2 separate regions of the Homo sapiens genome follow, and region 1 is linked to region 2. Evidence: promoter capture Hi-C in 16 types of primary human blood cells and fetal thymus (Javierre and others, 2016). All regions are on one chromosome and are shown on one strand. The core of a region is centred on a gene start or on the middle of the fragment in contact, and the rest is flanking DNA. Distances in the headings are between cores, read along the strand shown. Region 1 has its middle 29 kb from the start of SOAT2. Region 2 holds the start of MYG1 (MYG1 exonuclease).

Region 1 (6,158 bases), core at 1,236-3,735, 170 kb before region 2:
CCTATGGTCCCCTCCCGAATCTGTGCTGTCCAGTGTCTGTGACCTCTGTAACACCCCACACCTCACTATCCATGCTCCTCTCATGCTCTGCCATGCGGAGCTCCTCTTCCATAACACACACTCCACCGTTCTACAACACAGGCTTCAAATGGGCATTTCAGCAAAGTCCAATGACCTTAATCTTAATCTGCATGCAGGATTTCCTTTTTTTTCTTTCTTTCTTCCTTTTTTTTTTTTGACAGAGTCTTGCTCTGTCTCCCAGGCTGGAGTGCAGTGGTGCAATCTTGACTCACTGCAACCTCTGCCTTCTGGGTTCAAGCGATTCTCATGCCTCAGCTTCCTGAATAGCTGGGACTACAGGTGCATGTCACCATGTCCGGCTAATTTTTGTATTTTTAGTAGAGACGGGTTTTCACCACATTGGCCAGGCTGGTCTTGACCTCCTGACCTCAGGTGATCCACCCACCTCAGCCTCCCAAAGTGTTGGAATTACAGGCGTGAGCCACCATGCCTGGCCAGGATTTCCTTTCCATTCTTCAAAGGAACTATATCATTCATTCTCTCTTCTCCCATCATCCCTCTCCAAGCCCACAGAACTCCCCAGCAGCTCTCCTCTGCCCCAATTCCTTCCTGTTAACTGAAGAAATTCGCCCTCTTCCCTCTCCTCCTACCATCTCACTCAATGATATCAGCAGCTCTGGCACCATCCCTCCATTCTCCCTTCTACTAGATTGCTCCCAACAGCAGCCAGCTATGCTCCTAGTCTACTCTCCCTATGTCTAACTGTCCCTCTCCTCCCCCACAGCTACATCAGGCTGCTGTCCCACTTCTCAGCTCCCTGTCACAGCCACACTTCTCCAAAGAGTTGCCTGTCCCCACTGTTGAGGTTTTTCACCTCACATTCACTCAAGTGTTGATCATAGGTCTGCAAAGGGGCCTCTCATATTTTAATATGGGTTATTTGCTCCAGTACACAAGCCTTCCTGTTATTTCCCCTCTCATCAGATGGACCCACTTTGACACATGACAAATCTGTATGGATTCTTGAAAATGTAGTGCTTTATTGTACCTTTTAAATTTATATAAAGGGTTTAGTCAGCTTTATTCAAATATAATTCACATATCATACAATTTGTCCACCTAAAGTATGCAAGTCAATAATGTTAGTATAGGCCGGGCGCAGTGGCTCAAGCCTGTAATCCCAGCACTTTGGGAGGCCGAGGTGGGTGGATCACGAGGTCAGGAGATCGAGACCATCCTGGCTAACATGGTGAAACCCTGTCTGTACTAAAAGTACAAAAAAAAAAAATTAGCTGGACGTGGTGGCGGGCACCTGTAGTCCCAGCTACTCGGGAGGCTGAGGCAGGAGAATGGTGTGAACCCGGGAGGAAGAGCTTGCAGTGAGCCGAGATGGCACCACTGCACTCCAGCCTGGGTGACAGAGCGAGACTCCGTCTCAAAATAAATAAATAAATAAAATAATGTTAGTATATTCAGATTTGTGCAACCATCACCACAGTTAGCACATTTCATCACTGGCCCCCAAAATCTCATACCTACTAGTAGTCACTCTCCATGTCCCGAAAACCTCCCAGCCTTGGGCAACCACTGATTTACTTTCTGGATATTTCTTTTCTTTTTCTTTTTTCTGTTTTTTTTTTTGAGACAAGGTCTCATTCTGTCACCCAGACAGTGGTTTCTGGGTACAGTGGTGCCATCATAGCTCACTGCGACATTGAACTCCTCGCACAAGCAATCCTCCTACCTCAGTCTCCTGAGTAGCGGAGACCACAGGTGCACACCACCACACCCAGCTAGATTTTGTACTTAAAAAATTATTTTTGTAGAGATGGGGTTTTGCCATGTTGCCAAGCTGGTCTCAAACTCCTGGGCTCAAGTGATCTGCCCACCTCAGCCTCCCAAAGTGCTGGGATTACAGGCATGAGCCACCATGCATGGCCTATTCTGGATATTTCACATAAATGAAATCAGGCATCAGTGGTGGGGATGGCTACAGGCCAGGGCTGCTGACTGACAAGCTAGGAGAGGGCCCAGTGCCCAGAATCTTGGTGGGCGCTGCTGAAGCACCGCCTACACCATGCCTCTCTCTGCCACCTCCTTGGAGCGTTTTGAGCAGCTGCACGAGATGTGCCTCCAAGGGGTGCACTAGTGGCTGCTGGGTATGGCAGGGACCCAGGAGAAGCTGATCAGAGATTTTGATGAAAAGCAACAGGAAGCAAACAAAATGCTGACACAGATGGAGGAGGAACTACATTATGCACCCGTATCTTTCCATAACCCCATGATGTCTAAGCTTCAAGACTATCAGAAGGACCTTGCCCAATTCCATCTGGAGGCAAGAAGTACACCTTTGCAGCCATGCCTGGGGACCGAGGAGACATGAAATATGGCACATATGCTGTAGAGAATGAGCATATGAATAGGCTACAGTCTCAAAGGGCAATGCTTCTCCAAGGCACCAAAAGCCTGGGCCGGGCCACCCAAGAGACTGACCAGATTGGCTCAGAAATCTCAGAAGAGCTGGGGAACCAACGGGACCAGTGAGAACGTACCAAGAGTACACTGGGAAACGCAAGTGAAAACTTGTTCAAAAGTCGAAAGATTCTCTCTTCTAAGTCCAGAAAAGTGATAACCAACAAGCTTCTGCTTTCCATCATCTCACTGGAGCTAGCCATCCTGGGAGGCTTGGTTTACTTTGTGTTCTTTTGCAAGCATGGGACTTGCAATAGGGAAGGATTGTGGACCAGAACTTTGACCTTGGGAATGCATGGTGTTAGGGATGTGGATGGAATAAGCATGTTGCTCCTGTGGGCTAACAGTTCAAGGATGCACTGCGTAGCCAGACTGTGGGGGAGAAGGGAGGAAAGGTGGAAAGCCACTTAACTGTGAAGTGACAGCAACAAGACCAGTATGATATACCAAGGTAATAATGCTGTTTATGACTTCTTTTTTTGTTGTTGGTTTTTTGTTTTGTTTTGTTTTGTTTTTGTTTTTGTTTTTGAGACAGAGTCTCACTCTGTCGTCCAGGCTGGAGTGCTATGGCGTGATCTCGGCTCACTGCAAACTCCACCTTCTGGGTTCACGCCATTCTCCCGCCTCAGCCTTCAGAGTAACTGGGACTACGGGTGCCCGCCACCACGCCTGGCTAATTTTTTGTATTTTTAGTGGAGACAGGGTTTCACCATGTTAGCCAGGATAGTCTCGATCTCCTGACCTCGTGATCTGCCCGCCTTGGCCTCCCAAAGTGCTGGGATTACAGGCATGAGCCACCGCGCCCGGCCATGACTTCTTTAAAAATACATAAGCCTGGCCAACATAGCAAGAACTCATCTCTACCAAAAATAAAAAAAAATTAGCCAGGTGCGGAGGCCACATCTGTAGTCCCAGCTACTTAGAAGGCTGAGGCAGGAGAACTCCTTGAGACCAGGAGTCTGAGGCTGCAGTGAGCTATGATAGTGCCACTGCACTCCAGCCTGGGTGACAGAGTGAGACCTTGTCTCCAAAAACAAAATTAATTAATTAATTTTTAAGAATATGCCAAGGCTGGGCGTGGTGGCTCACACCTGTAATCCCAGCACTTTGGGAGGCCGAGGTGGGAGGATCACCTGAGGTCAGGAGTTCAAGACCAGCCTGGCCAACATGGTGAAACCCTGTCTCTACTAAAAATACCAAAAATTAGCTGGGCATGGTGGTGTGCACCCATAATCCCAGCTACTCTGGAGGCTGAGGCAGGAGAATCGCTTGAACCCGGGAGGCAGAGGTTGCAGTGAGTTGAGATTGTGCCACTGCGCTCTAGCCTGGGCGATAGAATGAGACTCTCTCAAAAAAAAAAAAAAAAAAAGGCCAGGCACGGTGGCTCACACCTGTAATCCCAACACTTTGGGAGCCTGAGGCGGGCAGATCACCTGAGTTTGAGGGTTCGAGACCAGCCTGACCAACATGGAGAAACCCTGTCTCTACTAAAATTACAAAATTAGCTGGGCATGGTGGCACATGCCTGTAATCCCAGCTACTCGGGAGGCTGAGACAGGAGAATCGCTTGGGCCCAGGAGGCGGAGGTTTCGGTGAGCCAAGATCATGCAATCGCACTCTAGCCTGGGCAACAAGAGTGAAACTCCATCTCAGAAAAAAAAAAAAAAAAAGTGCCGCATGTGGTGCCGCATGCGTGCAATTCCAGCACTTTGGGAGGCCGAGGTGGACAGATTGCTTGAGCTCAGGAGTTCAAGACCAGCCTGGCCAACATGGTGAAAACCCGTCTCTACTAAAAAAAATACAAAATTAGCTGAGCGTGGTGGTGCATGCCTGTGGTCCCAGCTACTCTAGAGGCTGAGCAAGGGAGAATCACCTGGGTTCAGGAGGTCGAGGCTGCAGTGAGTCAACATTGGGCCCTGCACTCCAGCCTGGTGACAGAGTGAGACCCTGTCTCAAAAATAACAATCAACCAATAAATGAAATCATACCCAATGTGGTCCTCTGAGATGGCCTTCTTCTTAACCTGTTTTGAAGATTCAATCATGTTTTAGCATATACCATACTTCATTTCTTTTTCTTTTTTTCAAGACAAGGTCTCCCTCTGTTGCCCAGGTTGGAGTTCAATGGCCTGATCATGGTTCACTGCAACTTTGACCTCCCAGGCTCAAACAATCCTCCCACCTCAGCTTCCTGAGTAGCTGCAACTGGAAGTGGGCCACCACCATGTCTGGCTAACTTTTTTGTATTTTTTTTTAATAGAACAAGGTCTCACTATGTTGCCCAGATTTATCTCGGACTCCCCAGCCAAGCAATTTGCTGCCTCCGCCTTCCAGAGTGTTGGGACTACAGGTGTGAGCCTATAGAAATAAAGACCGCACCCAGTCCTTTATTTCTTTTTTTGACTCACAAGTGCTTGATGTTCTTTCTTATTGTCAAATTATATTCCATTGTATAGATATACCACATTTCATATATCCATTCACCAGTAATGGAATTGAGTTTTTTCCACTATTTTGGCTATTCTGAATAAAGCTGCTATGAATGTTTGTGTGCAACTCTTTGCCTCAATAAATGTGTTTTATTTCTCTTGGCTATATACCTGGAAGTGGAATTACTGGGTCATATGATAATTCTGCATTTAATCGTTTGAGGAACTGCTAGACCATTTTCCAAAGTGGCTGCACCGGTTTATAATCCTGCCAGCAGTGTATGAGGGTTCCAACTTCCCACATACTCACCAACACTTCGTTATTATCTCTTTTTGATTATAGCCGTCTTCATATGAAGTGGTATCTCATTGTGGTTTTGATTTGCATTTCCCTGACAACTAATGATGTTGAGCATCTTGTCATGTGCTTACTGGCCATTTGTACAGCTTCTTTGGAGAAATGTCTATTCAAATCCTTAGCCTATTTTTATTTATTTTATTTATTTGTCTTTATTTTTATTTTATGTATTTGTCCTTATATTATTGAGTTGTAAGAGTTATTTCCATGTTCTTGATATAAGTCCCTTATCAGATATATGATTTATAAATATCCTCTTTAATTCTATAGATTGTCTTTTCACTTTCTTGATGGTATCCTTTGAAGTGTAAAAGTTTTTAATTTTGATGAACTCCAGTTTACCTATTTTTTCTTTGGTTGCTTGCACTTTCGGTGTCATATCTAACCTAACCCAGGCTCACAAAGATTTATTCCTATATTTTCTTCTAAGAGTTTTATGGTTTTAGCTCTTAAGTGTATGAATTAATTCTGGGATATGATGTGAGAAAAAAATGACATTCTTTTGCATGTGAATATCTAGTTGTCCCAGCAACACTTGTTAAAAAGACTATTCTTTCTCCAATGAATTGTCTTGGCATCTTTTAAAAAATTTTATTTTATTTTATTTTATTTATTTATTTATTTAGAGACAGGGTATTGTTATGTCACCCAGGCTGGAGTGCAGTGGTGCTATCACGGCTCACGGCAGCTCAACTTCCTGGGCTCAGGTGATCCTCCCACCTCTGCCTCCCAAGTAGCTAGAACTACAGGTATGTGCCACCATGCCTGGCTAATTTATTTTTTATTTTTTTGTAAAGACAGGGTCTCACCATGTTGCCCAAGCTGGTCTTGAACTCCTGGACTCAAGCTATCCTCCTGTCTGGCCTCCCAAAGTGCTGG
Region 2 (6,077 bases), core at 1,891-4,390:
CGCGCCACCACGACCGGCTAATTTTTGTATTAATAGTAGAGTTGGGGGTTTCACCATATTGGCCAGGCTAGTCTCGAACTCCTGACCTCGTGATCCGCCTGCCTCGGCCTCCCAAAGTGCTAGGATTACATTACAGGCGTGAGCCACTGCCCCCGGCCAAGAATACTCTTATTACACACTTTGTAGCTCTTTTATCTGACTTCACACCAACATCCAGCTAATGTCTTGTGAACACCAAGGAGTATGTATAGTTGAGATGTAATATTTCCCTTTGCTGTTTGAGAACATTAATATGGAGATAAAGCTGGTGGTTTACACTTTGCTAATATCTTAGAAGATACAGGCAATAGACAAAAATAGGAGGATATAGAAACAGGGAGCTTGGCTCTGTTAATCTTCAACTTCAGCTTAATTGTGGCTCATTTCTAAACTGTCACTAAGAAACCTGGATTGTGTTCACTTGTTCAGTGTTTTATTTGAATGAGCAAGTTATGGCAGTAGGGCATCTTTAATCTGTAGTCTCAGAACTGACAGGCTAAAAGGAACACAGGAATAGTAGTGTGTAGTAGGGAATGGTTTAAAAAAAAAAATTAGCCAGGCACAGTGGTTCACGCCTGTAATCCCAGCACTTTGGGAGGCCAAGGCTGGCAGATCACCTGAGGTCAGGAGTTAGAGATCGGTCTGGCCAACATGGTGAAACCCTGTCTTTACTAAATATACAAAAATTAGCCAGGCGTGGTGGCACATGCTTGTAATCCCAGCTACTCCGGCGACTGAGACAGGAGAATTGCTTTAACCCGAGAGGCAGAGGTTGCAGTGAGCCGATAGCGGGCAATTGCACTCCAACCTGGGCGATAGAGCGAGACTCTGTCTCAGAAAGCAAAAAACAAACAAAACATTGACTTTGTCAGGAATTAGCTACTTCATGATTGAGGGCATTAAGGGAAATGAGGCTGGCTTTTTACTTGTAGTACTCTACAACAGTAGGAAAACATGTCTAGTCTTTCTGGAGGGGCTAATGGGAAGAATTGCAAGAACTGCTTAGAGAGTGAGAGATGGGATGAGGCAGGACAAGAGGGTGTTCCAGCATACATCATTTTCTCCTTAAAGAACCAACTTCTCTGTCTTCTTTCCATTTGGAGTTATAGGTATTGTTCTAAGGCCTCCAGATTATTCAGTCCTTATGCCTTGTAGCTTTTTGGAAAAAGAGGGTCTTTGGAGGCCAAGCAGGCTGGCTGGCGGAATCATGGCTCATGCTGGGCTGGCTAGTTTTTCCCTTAATTCTTGCTTCTCAGATGTATGTCCCTGGGAAGCTGCATGATGTGGAACACGTGCTCATCGATGTGGGAACTGGGTACTATGTAGAGAAGGTGAGTGAGAGCATGTGGATGCCCCTCTAAACAGGGAAGGGAAATTCAGGGGAAGCTCTAGAGCGCAGCATGGCCAGAGGGAGTCTCCTTTTAGCCCCTTATTCACCTCTGATCTTGTAGACAGCTGAGGATGCCAAGGACTTCTTCAAGAGGAAGATAGATTTTCTAACCAAGCAGATGGAGAAAATCCAACCAGCTCTTCAGGAGAAGCACGCCATGAAACAGGGTAAGTTTTTCCTGGGGCACCTCTTGACCCTATCTCCATAATAAGGAACATGGATTGCAGTGTGAACCACGGGGGTGTCCCCTTTGCTGGAGTAAAACTATGTCTTAGTTTCTCTTTGGCATCTTTAGAATCTGTGTATTGCATAATCACTATCTGTAGATTCCTGGGTTGAGCGTTTGAGAAATTTAGAGGAAGGAAATCATGTTTGTGCTTTGGTGGAGCTCCTATTTAATGACGATGGAATGGGGGAATGAGATGAACACACAGGAAGGAATCATGATCCAAACGAACTAAATACCAGCAATTATAACCCCGACTGCACATGAGAATCACTCAGGAAGTTTAAAAAGAAAGCTTGGGCCCATTCCAGATTGACTAAATCAACTTGGAAGTCAAAGGAGGGGAAGTTGTACCAAGGTCTGTTTTTTTTTAAAAAAGCTCCCCTCTGTTATAATCAGGATTCAGAACCAGTGTTCCAAAGGTAAAAATCTTTCCCCATCATAGTTTTCTGATTATGTCAGACTCATTTAATACCATATTGTGTTCGTTTTTATATCTTTGGTTAGCAGGTTTTTTTTTTTTCCGAGAAGAGTCTCATTCTCACCACACCCAGCTGTGTTAGCATATTGACCGATGCATTGTAGACCCTAAATTTGTGTTAGTGACCCCACAGTGGATCACTGAGTTAAAGTTTTATTAACAATGCCAGGCGCAGTGGCTGACGCCTGTAATCCCAGCACTTTGGGAGGCCAAGGCAGGTGGATCACCTGAGGTTAGGAGTTCAAGACCAGCCTGGCCACCATGGTGAAACCCCATCTCTACTAAAAATACAAAGTTAGCCCGGGCATGGTGGTGCATGCCTGTAATCCCAGCTGTTCGGGAGGATGAGGCAGGAGAATCGCTTGAACCCGGGAGACGGAGGTTGCTGTGAGCCAAGATCGTGCCACTGCACTCCAGCCTCGGTGACAAGAGCAGGATTCTGTCTCAAAAAAAAAAAAAAAAGGTTATTAACAAACTGTAGTTAGTCGGTCGCCTGTCCTTAAACTTGCCTGTCACTTCTCCTTAACTCTAGGTTCTCCTTTTTGCTTCTAACCTTTGACTCTTATTTTTTTCCACAGCCGTCATGGAAATGATGAGTCAGAAGATTCAGCAGCTCACAGCCCTGGGGGCAGCTCAGGCTACTGCTAAGGCCTGAGAGTTTTTGCAGAAATGGGGCAGAGGGACACCCTTTGGGCGTGGCTTCCTGGTGATGGGAAGGGTCTTGTGTTTTAATGCCAATAAATGTGCCAGCTGGGCAGAATGTTGGTCTTTTCTTGGATTAAGCAAGGGACTGGTGATGAGATGGGGGGTGTGGTCGAGAGTGTGGGCCCCGTCTCAGAGCCTGATGCGCAGGGGTGATGCGATGCGCCTCTTGGAGGCTCCATCGCAGGGCCCTTTGACCAGCTGGAAGAAATCCTAGGCTGGGAGTCTGCTGCTGCTCACTCTGCAGAGCTGGTTGCCAAGGGAACGGTTGGCAAGCGGAAGTGGGGCTGCGCTGGCGCTTCCTCTTCCGGGTCGGCGCTCCTGCCTCCCTGCAGGGAGCTGCTTATGGGACACCAATTCCTGCGCGGCCTCTTAACGCTGCTGCTGCCGCCGCCACCCCTGTATACCCGGCACCGCATGCTCGGTCCAGAGTCCGTCCCGCCCCCAAAACGATCCCGCAGCAAACTCATGGCACCGCCCCGAATCGGGACGCACAATGGCACCTTCCACTGCGACGAGGCACTGGCATGCGCACTGCTTCGCCTCCTGCCGGAGTACCGGGTACGGTCCGCGAAAAGTGACCCTGGGACTGCGTGCATGCATGCCTCCGGGGTGGATGGCATTCCGCCAACAGGGTCACTCCGATAGCGCCCGGCAGCCCAAGCACCCTTCCTACCCTTCCTGCCTCCCTGAAGTCCAGCATTAATCCCCTACCCGGCGACACCCGGCAGCCCCTTCACCCCTGTGTACCTCGCAGGATGCAGAGATTGTGCGGACCCGGGATCCCGAAAAACTCGCTTCCTGTGACATCGTGGTGGACGTGGGGGGCGAGTACGACCCTCGGAGACACCGATATGACCATCACCAGAGGTAGGTTCTCAGATACCATTTATTTAACTTCCTTGACCTCAGCTTTCCTCTGTGCTCCAATTCAGCCATCCACTGCCGTAGTCCGCGTCAGCGAAAAGAACTGCTTCATCACTGAAATCAAACTCCCACTAGGACTACATCATCCTTCCGGCCCTGCCTGTTCTTCACCCATCTCCCTGGCCTGGGACCTCCTTTGGTTCCCAGGGAGTCCCTCAGGCCCCTTATCTCATCTCCTTCCTTAGCCAAGGCTTTTTTTCCATCAGCAACTTCATCACCCCAACTAAATAAACCCATCTGTGATTAATCCATTCTGGTGCCCTTGCTGCTGCACCTAACTGCTGGGCCCACATGATTGTGGCAGTTGGTGACAGTTCAGATGTGTGAAGTTTTCTACTTCATTTACACCCTTCCAAAGGGAAATCCTTCTTGCTCAAGGGTAGCCCATTCCAATCCTTTTCTTCTCCCTCAAGCCTCTACCGCATCAAACTGAGTGTCCCTGCCTCTTTTCAAAAGAAGTTGAGCATTTCCTCAGTCTCCCACCTCAAACATCCTCAGCTCCCTCCTACCAACTAAGGGAAATTTCTTCCCTTCTATTGGAGGTTAATCCTCTGTCCTGTTTCCAGTCTATTACTTTCTTCTCTGGGATTCTTTTTTCTTTTCTTTTTTTTTTTTTTTGAGACGGAGTCTCCCACTGTCGCCCAAGCTGGAGTGTAGTGGCACGATCTCGGCTCACTGCAACCTCTGTCTCCCAGGTTCAAGCGATTCTCCTGTCTCAGCCTCCCGAGTAGCTGGGACTACAGGCACCCACCACCACACCCGGCTAATTTTTGTATTTTTAGTAGAGACGGGTTTCACCATATTGGCCAGAGTGGTCTCGAACTCCTGGCCTTGTGATCTGCCCCGCCTTGGCCTCCCAAAGTGCTGGGATTACAGGTGTGAGCCACTGTTGGCCTATCCTCTGGGATTTCATGTCACAGTTCCACTAGTGTCTCTGCCTCTCCTTCCCTACAGCCTAAAACCCTTCTCAAGTATCTTCCATCTTGAAAAGAAACACAGGTGTAAAAACAAAACCCTCCCTCAATTATACCACACCACGAGAAGTAATTATCTTGGAGAGAGGGATTATGATGTTTTAAGTCTCTCTCCTTTTTTCTTTTTTTAGCATACATATTATAAATGATGTCAGGAAGAAACCCTCCCAATATTTACAGCCTAAGCTCTCACCCTTGCTTCTCAGCCACCCTTCAAAAAACAGCTGACCGTGGCTTCACCTGTTCCTTTCCAGTTCATTCCCCTCAAGCCCACTCTCCCAGTGTCTTCTCTGGAACTGCTCGGCAGAAGGGCACCAGTTACCTCAGCACCAAACCAGGGAGCTGGTAAAGGGTCTCAACTGATCTCTTTAGCACTTGGCATTATTGACCACTTCCTTTTATCAAATTGTTTTTAAGATGGAGTCTCGTCTGTCACCCAGGCTGGAGTGCAGTGATGTGATCTCGACTCACTGCAACCTCCGTCTGCTGGGTTCAAGTGATTCTCCTGCCTCAGCCTCCCAAGTAGCTGAGACTACAGGCGCCCAGCTAATTTTTGTATTTTTAGGAGAGACAGTGTTTCACTATGTTGGCCAGTCTGGTCTTGAACTCCTAACCTCAGGTGATCCACCCGCCTCAGTCTCCCAAAGTGCTAGGATTGCAGGTGTGAGCCACCATGCCCAGCCTCATTTTTTTTATTTTTACTTTTTTTGAGATGGAGTTTCGCTATTGTTGCCCAGGCTGGAGTGCAGTGGCACTCAGCTCACTTCAACCTCCACCTCCCAGATTCAAGTAATTCTCCTGCCTCAGCTTCCCAAGAAGCTGGGACTACAGGCGTGTGCCACCATGTCCGGCTAATTTTTCCATTCTTAGTAGAAACAGAGTTTCAGCATGTTGGCCAGGCTGGTCTCAAACTACTGACCTCAAGTGATCACGCCTTGGCCTCCCAAAGTGTTGGGATTAGAGGTGTGAGCCACTGAGCCCAGCCTGTATTTACTCAATATTTAATAATAAAAGTCAGTTAACAAATGGAGCTCCCTAGGTAATTCTGAGATGGACTGGTATTTAGAAATCATGGCTGTAGTTTCTGCTTCCCTAACATCTGTTATATCTTTTCTCTATTTTCTGCCCCACTGCTGTTCAAATTCTTGCCTTCTTTATTCACCTGAACCATTGCAGGTAATCTCCTTGCATCTGTTCTCCATGCTGGCTGGTGCAATGCTGTAACATGCACCTGCCTGCTTAAAATCCCCCAATGACTTCGATTACCCACAGATAAAGTCCGATGGTCTGGCCCTGCCTGCCCTTCCAGCTTTTTCTTTTGCCATTCACTTCTCACAC

The links. The method cuts DNA at HindIII sites, captures the fragments that hold promoters and counts their contacts. A CHiCAGO score of 5 or more calls a contact.
Region 1: a contact is called between a fragment that was not itself captured here and the fragment with the promoter of MYG1 in region 2, in 2 of 17 cell types (total CD8 T cells and naive CD8 T cells). The highest score is 5.3, in total CD8 T cells.

What each region holds. Positions count from the first base shown.
Region 1 is chr12:53,129,252-53,135,409 of GRCh38, forward strand. It overlaps the pseudogene VTI1BP3. Among named protein-coding and RNA genes, the nearest start is that of SOAT2, 29 kb to the left of the region's middle. The HindIII fragment of the contact is 347 bases long and covers 2,313-2,659 here.
Region 2 is chr12:53,296,555-53,302,631 of GRCh38, forward strand. It overlaps MYG1 (MYG1 exonuclease), which reads left to right and starts at 3,141. Exons shown (of 7, transcript NM_021640.4): 1 at 3,141-3,399; 2 at 3,596-3,708. The coding sequence starts at 3,184. It overlaps PFDN5 (prefoldin subunit 5), which reads left to right. Exons shown (of 6, transcript NM_002624.4): 4 at 1,296-1,370; 5 at 1,491-1,596; 6 at 2,715-2,896. The coding sequence ends at 2,791. RefSeq lists enhancers at 2,113-3,312, 2,816-2,905, 2,946-3,045, 2,951-3,245, 3,056-3,115 and 1 more. The HindIII fragment of the contact is 10,124 bases long and covers 1,949-6,077 here.